Regions from separate parts of the Homo sapiens genome. Here region 1 is linked to region 2. The links are contacts of gene promoters, found by promoter capture Hi-C in blood cells and fetal thymus (Javierre and others, 2016). All regions are on one chromosome and are shown on one strand. The core of a region is centred on a gene start or on the middle of the fragment in contact, and the rest is flanking DNA. Distances in the headings are between cores, read along the strand shown.

Region 1 (4,086 bases), core at 745-3,244, 120 kb before region 2:
GAGGCTGAGGCAGGAGAATCACTTGAACCCTGGAGGCGGGAGGTTGCAGTGAGCACCACTGCATTCCAGCCTGGATGACAGAGGGAGACTCTGTCTCAAAAAATTAAAAAATGAATAAAAAAGAATAACCTATTTCCTAGTCTGTTCATTCTTTACCACCCCTTGCAGTTTCTACACCTTCTGCCCTATTGCACTTCTAAAAATGTTATTTTATTTATATGTGTATATATGTATTTTCTTGAAATATAATCCTATACCGTACAAATTACCCATTTAAACTGTACAAATCAGTCGTTTTTAGTATTTGCAGAGTCATGAAACCATCACAATTTTCAGTGTCTCTAATAAACAACTAATCACCAATTAAAGTAAACTTTCCTTAGTTCCTTGTCCTTTAACTTTTCTTTAGCATTTGTCACTGTTGACTACCATCTCTGGTTTAAAGCTGACATCCCATGGTTTGTTTTGCAACAAAGGATGCAAATTTCCCTACTTCTTGGACCAGTCTTTTTCCCTTTCTCTAATTTGGTGATTCTTAGTCTGCAAGTGGGTAAATCATAAGTGCATTCAAGTCTGTTTTACCTTCCTGTCACTGGGCAAACGCTCGCCTTTGGTGATTCTTCCTACTTGGTACAAGTTCACAGAGTTCTGTACCCAGACCCCTTCCTTCTTCACTCTCCATCCCTCCATCCGTCAACATGACTTTATAGTTATCACCTCTGTGTAGATGAACCCCAAGTAGATATGTTCTGTAGAGACTTCAACTGGCCTATTTATCTGTCTGATAGATATTTCCACAAAAGGATCTTAAAGTTCTTCAAGCTTAGTATTTATAGAGCCAAATTCTTTTCCTCCCTCCTTATCAAAACCAGCTTTTTCTCTTGTCTTATCCATTTGTCTTTTTAGTATCACCCTCTGTGTCAGTCAAACTTGAAATCATCTTTTTCCATTCTTTGCCTCATGGCCAATTATGACACACACACCCCTTGTTCCAGCTGCCATTGTGTGGAGACAGGTGTATTAGGCATTACTTGAACTGCTACTATAATCTCCTAACTCTTCCTCTTTCTGCATACCTCTAAACAGCCCTTACCTCATTATGTTCTCTCCCCTTACATGCGTTATTATTTGTGGCACTTAAGATTCCCTGACAAATATTCATATATTTCTTTCTTATTGTCTCTCCCACTAGAATGTAAGCTTCCTGGGGCAAAGACCTTACTTATCTTGTGCCCTGCCATGCCATTAAGGCCTGGCTCATAGTAAATGCTCAGGAAATATTTAAATGAAAAAGTACATGGAAAACTGTTAGGCGTATGTATATTAAAGTAGCAATTCCCAACTGTGAATAAATTGCTAAGATGTGCTAAGATATTGATTCCCTCAGCCAACTGTCCAGTTGCCTTCTGTTCTATAAGAATATATGTACATGTTTAACACTTATTAATAATCAAACACCAGAAACATTTACATGCCCAAACAGTAGAATGTATAGATAAAGTGTGTTGCATTCATAGGATATAACTGTACTGTACAGCAGACTTTCTCAGCTTTGGCACTATTGACATGTTGGACCAGATAATTTCTTGTCATGGGGGATTGTTCTGTGCACTGAGGACATTCAGCAACATTCCTGGCCTCTACCCACACTAGATGCCAGTGGCAACCCCCCAGTTAGGAAAACCAGAAGTGTCTTCAGACATTGCCAAATGTCCCCTGGGGGGCAAAATTGTCCCAGGTTTAAAAACCACTGCTCTGCGGCAGTGAGAATGAACAAATACTGCTTTATGCAACAACAGGAATGAATCCCATGAACTTAATATTGAGCAGAAGAAACCAAATGTAAAAGTGGTACTGTGTCATCGCACAGTCCTTCAAAAACAGGCAAAACAAATTGATGGAAATAGAGGTCAGAATAGTTATCTTTGGGAGGATAGTCACTAGGAAAGAACGAAGAGAGCTTCTGGAATGTTGGTACTGTTCTCTTTCTCAACTGAATAGTGTTAACACAGGTGTGTTTACTTTGTGAAAAACAATCAGCCATACACTTATAATTAGTTCACTTTTCTTTTTGTATGCTATAATTCAAATCACAGTGTTGTAATTTATGAAAGCAGTACCCACACATAAGCAAGTATTCCTTGGCTATCGAGGGATTGATGAAGATAAGGAGTCCTCCTGGTCTCCTATTCAGTCTCATCTGACTTTTTCCCCAACTTTTTATTGTATGAAAGAATAGTGCAATGACAACTTATTTACCTGTGGACACATGTTCGTTTTTTGCCATGTTTACTGTGTGGTTGTGTTTTAGCTGAACCATTTGAAAGTAGGTTGCAGACATCATGACACTTTACCCAAAATACTTCAGCCTTCATCTGCTAAGAATAAAGTCATTCTCCTGTGTAATCACAATATCATTATTACCCCCAAAGAAAATTAACTGACAGTAATTCCCTCCCTAATACCCTCTAATATACAATTTATACTTAAATTTTTCCAAATTGTTTGAAATTTCTTTTTTTTAAAAAAAAAAAAAAAGCAGGATCTAATCAAGGTTCACACATTGCATTTTGTTGTAGCCCTCTTTAGCCTTTTTAAATCTAAGACAGTCTCTCAAAATGTTTTTTCATAACACTGTTTTGAAGAGACCGGGTCAGTTGTTGAGTAGAGTGTCTCACCTTCTGGATGTGACTGATAGTTTCCATGTTGTGCTTTTTTCACTTACTCTTGTACCACCAGTATTTATTGTAAACTGGAAGTTCGGTCAAAAGTTTGCTTAAATTTAGGTTAAGCTTTTGGGGGACAAGAATACTACATAGGTAGGTGATATTTATTTCACATTGCATCACATCAGAAGCCATGTAATGTCAGGTTTTCACCCTATTAGTGATGTCAAGTGTGATCATTTTGTTAAGGATCAACTGTATTTTTTTTACAGTAGTTAATATCCATGCTAGCAAAGTCGCATTTATTATCAGTAGCATTTTATTATCAGTAGTTATCAGTGCTAGCAAAGTATTATTCTCTATATGTATTAATATTATGGACACTTGGATTGTATGTTCACTATTTTATGATCAACCACAGTTATTTTTCTTTTTGCTATTCAAATTACCTTGGATTAGTCCAGTGGGCACCCATCATGGTGGCTCCTATGTCTTTTTTTTTTTTTTCCCTAGCAAATCATTCCTTCAGCAGTCCTATGTCTTTTGATAAGCTTTGATTAGTCTGAGTACATCCCAGGCAGGCTCCAACCCCAGACTGGAAAGAAACCTGCTTCCTTTTAGAGGGTATTGGTATTGAAAAAGTTAAGATTTCAGAATTAGGAGTGTCATTCCTTCTTGGTACTTGAAAAGGACAGAAATGGGATACATATATATATATTTTTTTTTAACCATGATTTATTTTGATATCTTCAGTTAAAGTTTAACATTACAGATTTGTTTCTTAACATTTGGTTTTCTGCATGTGTGCATTTGTTTTCTTTGCACTGAAAATCTTGGTTCCTAACAACATTAGCATTTACATATTTGCTTTATTCCACAACATGCAAAAAAAAATGTGTTTGAAAATTACAACATTAATGACACTACTAACAGTACACTAATGAAGTTTTAAAATTTCGTTGGGGCCAGCCACTGTGGCTCATACCCATAATCCTAGCACTTTGGGAGGCTAGGCGGGAGGATCGCTTGAGGCCAGGAGTTCGATGCTGCAGTGAACTAGGATCATGCCACTGCACTTATAGCCTGGGTGACAGAACAAGACTCTGACTCTAAAATAAGTAAGTAAGTAAATAAATAAACAAATAAATAATTCTTTTCAGTTATTTTTGTCCTTAGAATATATCTCACTAAGCATGTAACAATATCAGAAATTACTTGGAAGTAAGTTTCTGTGTGATTTTGTTGCCCATTTGGTTTGAGTTTTAGGATTTGCTTTTTTATTTTTAGTTAAGTGTATGAGTATGTTAAATATTTACATGATTCAAACATCAAAGTTATAAAAGTACTCTGCAGGGAGTCAAGCTGAAAGAGCACCTAATGGCCACATTGGAATAATTTGAGCAACAAAATAAATAATGAT
Region 2 (3,649 bases), core at 1,150-3,649:
ATATCCCTCTAAACCCAGTCCTGCCTTGAACCCACAGGCTCAGGATGGTAAATAAAGGAAAAACATGCTGCACTGCCCCTGCCCCACCTCCATGGGTATGTCTCCCACCCCAGCCCCCACCCCAACACGTCTGCAGAGGCCACTTGGCCACCAAACTAAGGAGAAAACGTCCCTCCCCAGCTCAGGCTGAGGGGTTCTGGGGAGGGCAGTTATTGCAGGCTTAGACACACTTTCTCTGAATTAGGAAAGGCTTTAAAGGGAACCAGAAAGAGCTGTTCATTCTCCACCTTCAGGCAAAAAGTTCAGGCAGTTGCAACTACCAGCAGAACTGGAAGCCAAGCTACCAAAAAACGTGGAAGAACAGGGAGGCCCCGGATCCACCAGCGAGGAGGAGAAAGCTGGCAGGGAGCAGAAGGGCTGAGCAGGGGGCTGGGAGAGGGAGCAGGCTGCAAGCTCCCACAGCCCCAAGCTGGGGCCACCCTCTGCACTGGGCGCAGCAGTAACATGGGCGTAGAAGACAGAAGCTGACAGAGGCCAAAGTTCCTCCCACCCACACCCTGGTCACGGATGACCACGGCACTTCCTGTAAGGCGATCAACAGTTTATAAATCCCTTCAGAAGGTTTATCTCCACCTCAAACCCACGAGGCAGAGGTCATCATCTCCATTTCACAGACAAAGAAACTGAGGCACACAGAGGAGAAAAGCTAGAATCCGTTCCAAATACATCTCCCTCGGGAAAGTCTTAGAGTCTCGGCTGAGAAAGGTCCCAGGACTAGAAGGGCGGAATTTATGGCAAACAAGAAAGGCTCTGAGCCCCAGGCCTCTCCCCAACTGCCTCTGGGTCTCAAGCGGCTGCCTGTGCACCTTCCCAATCCCCACACCCCACTGCAGAACTCCAGCCACCGCACACACGTGGACGCTGCTTGGTTTGGAGGACACCTGTTGCTGCAAGAGGGGAAATTCACTTGCGCTCAAGGGGCCTTGTATCCTTTGCTGTTTAGAACTTCCCGCTACTAGGCAAGGATTTCCAAGGCTGGGATGAGGCGCCCACCGCCAGCCCAGCAGTGACAGACCCTAATTTTGGCAACTACACCCGCTAGAAACTTTTCTGGGACCGGACCGGCAGCAGGTTCTGAGCTGGACAAAAAGACGCTCCACCACTGAACCGGCCCACCACCGCCCAAAGCCCCACTTTGGGTGAGTGCGGGATCCCCTGGCCCAGGATCCATGACAGCTGGAGGAGTCTGGAGTGGCGGCCGCATGAGTGGGACAGCCAGGGACCACCTCCTCTCGCCGCAGCCTGGGAAAAGGGCTGCAGCCAGGGAGACCCGCGCTGCCCGGCCCGTGTAGTCCTTACCGTGCAGGCCGTTGGGGATGCTGCGGTGGTGCGGCGGCGCCGACAAGTCGTCCAGGGACCGACGTGTGGCTCCTGCCTTGCCGTCGGGGGCCTTGTGCGGCCCGGGGGGCAGCAGCGGGGGTGGGACGTGGTGGTGGTGGTCGGGGCTGCCGCCGCTGCCCGCGCTGGACGTACTGCTGCCGTCGCCCACGTCGCGGGCCCCCGCGCCGGGCGCGCCACCCGACAGCGGCCCGCTCAGGCTGGCCTGGCTGTCGATGGAGCTGCGGGAGCCGGCGCCGCCCCCGCCGCCGCCGCCACCGCTTGCGGCCCCCGTCGCCGCCAGTGCCGCGCGCTCCTCGTCCAGCAGCAGCACCAGCTCCTTGAGCTCCAGGTTCTCGCGCAGCAGGGCCTCCTGGCGCGCCTCGAGCTCGCGCAGCTTCTGCTGCGAGCGGGCCACCTCGTGCCACACGGCGCCGGCCGCGTGGCGCCCGAAGCGCTGCCACTCGCGCGCCAGCTTGCGCCCCTTCTGCCGGTCGTCGTCGAGGAAGCAGCAGAGCTCGCGCAGCTCCTGGTTGTCGTCCTGCAGCCGCTGGTTCACGTCCTTGAGGCCGCGGATCTCCAGCAGGTGCTGCTGCAGCCGCCGGTTCACGTCGCGCATCAGGCCGCCGTGCTCCAGCATGAGGCCCACCTTCTCGCCCTCGGCGCGCCGCAGCCGCCGCGCCAGCTCCTCCTTGCTCCAGCGCAGCAGCTCCTCGTCCGGCACCTGGCTCAGCTCCTCCGACGCCGCCGCCGCCGTCGCCGCGGGCTTAGCCATGGCGGGGCCGTCACCGCGGCATCGCCCTCGCCCTCGCCCGGCCGGCGCTTCCCCGCGCCGGGGCTCCGCTGGGCCGGTCCGCGCGCGGGCGGGGGGCGGCCGGGGGCGCGTGCGGCCCGCCCCGCGCCGCCTGGCGCGTCCTCTCGCCGCGCCCGCCGGGGCCGCCCGGGAGCCCGCGCGCCTCGGGGTTGACGAGCGGAGGCGGCTGCTGCGTCGGCGGCCGCGGTGCCGGGCGCTCTCAGGGTTCTGGAGAAGCAGGCGGAGGCCCGCCCCCGGCCCAGCTCCCGGAGCCCCCGCCGCCCCGCCCACCCCGGGCGGAGAGTGGGCGGGTCTCCGAGGCCCGGCCCCGCCCCCGAGGGCGACTGGGGAGCAGAGGCGCGGCCCCCGCCGTCCCCCTGCGCGGTGCGCCCGCCCGTCCAGTGCCCTCTCAGAGGCGCGTTCCGGCCGCGGTCCCGCCCTCCCGGCCGGGCGATTGGGCCGCTCCGGGGGTGTGCGGGAGGGGCGGGGCGCGCGCGGGGGAAGCTGCGGCGGTGGTACGGTCCATCCGCGGGGTTTCCGACCCCCGCCCGCGGCCGGCTCCCGGCGGTTCAAGTTTCTGCGCCCGGAGGACGCGGCCTTAGCCAATCCCAGGGCTACAGGGCGCTTTTAAAATGCAGGTACGGCTGCGGGGAGGGGGACGGTGGGAAAGGTAGGGCCGGGCTTCCCTTAAAGGCGACGCGCGAAAATAGCAGTCGAGCCCCCTCCCCGGCCCGCGTCCCCGGTCCTCTTCCCTCTCCCCAGATAAACAAATACCCACGATCCGGGCGACGGCGCCCCTTCTCCCTCCCGGGGGCACCAGAGTTCAGGGCAGTCGGAGACACAGCGAACAATAGGACTGTGACATGGGGGTCGCTCTTCCCCGCAGCAGGGCGGCTCTTTGTCCCCTTCCCTGCCCCCAGGCTCCTCCGCCCCCGTCCCCACCCGGGTCCCCTGCCGGAGCACGCGGCGGGGCTGCGTCTCCACTCCTAGCCCAGGGCTGAGCTAAACGCTGGCGTCCGCGCCCCTGCAGGGCCAGGGCCTTGCCAGCCGCGTCCCGCAGCGCGGTCAGTACTCTCTGCCCCGATGGGGCGAGAGCTCCGGGAACCTGCCCCCTGCCCGGAGCGGCGCTCGGAGCCCCGCTCCACCTCCGCTCACTCGACCGCTAAATCCCTGGGATTCGGGAGATAATCTGCAATTCGCGGGGTGGAAACCACTGGGAAGGGTGGGAAGGTCTCCCACTGGGGCCTGAACGCCGGGGTCCGGGGGCGCCGAGCCGGCCACAGAACTCCCCACCGGCGGCCTCGCGGGACCCCCGGGCTTCCCACTGCCTGTAAGTCTGTCTCGTTATCCTCCGGTCCCCAAAGCGCATTTACGGCGCGTCTACCGCCAGCAGGCGGGGCGGGGCGGGGCGGGGGGGGGTCCCTCCCCCGGAACCTGCAACGAGATCAAATCCGCGCACGCGACAGTGAGCGGCCCACG

Evidence for each region. Contacts are between HindIII fragments. The CHiCAGO score rates a contact against its expected background, and 5 or more counts as called.
Region 1: a contact is called between a fragment that was not itself captured here and the fragment with the promoter of CCDC85C in region 2, in 1 of 17 cell types (non-activated CD4 T cells). The highest score is 5.7, in non-activated CD4 T cells.

The regions. Positions count from the first base shown.
Region 1 is chr14:99,485,755-99,489,840 of GRCh38, forward strand. The region is part of intron 1 of CCNK (cyclin K); the gene reads left to right. It also overlaps a transcript of SETD3 not described here. Among named protein-coding and RNA genes, the nearest start is that of CCNK, 6.4 kb to the left of the region's middle. The HindIII fragment of the contact is 1,592 bases long and covers 1,199-2,790 here.
Region 2 is chr14:99,601,808-99,605,456 of GRCh38, forward strand. It overlaps CCDC85C (coiled-coil domain containing 85C), which reads right to left and starts at 2,400. Exons shown (of 6, transcript NM_001144995.2): 1 at 1,360-2,400. The coding sequence starts at 2,152. It also overlaps a transcript of HHIPL1 not described here. RefSeq lists enhancers at 595-1,248, 1,955-2,074 and silencers at 2,335-2,864, 3,005-3,144, 3,205-3,274, 3,455-3,604. The HindIII fragment of the contact is 18,022 bases long and covers 1-3,649 here.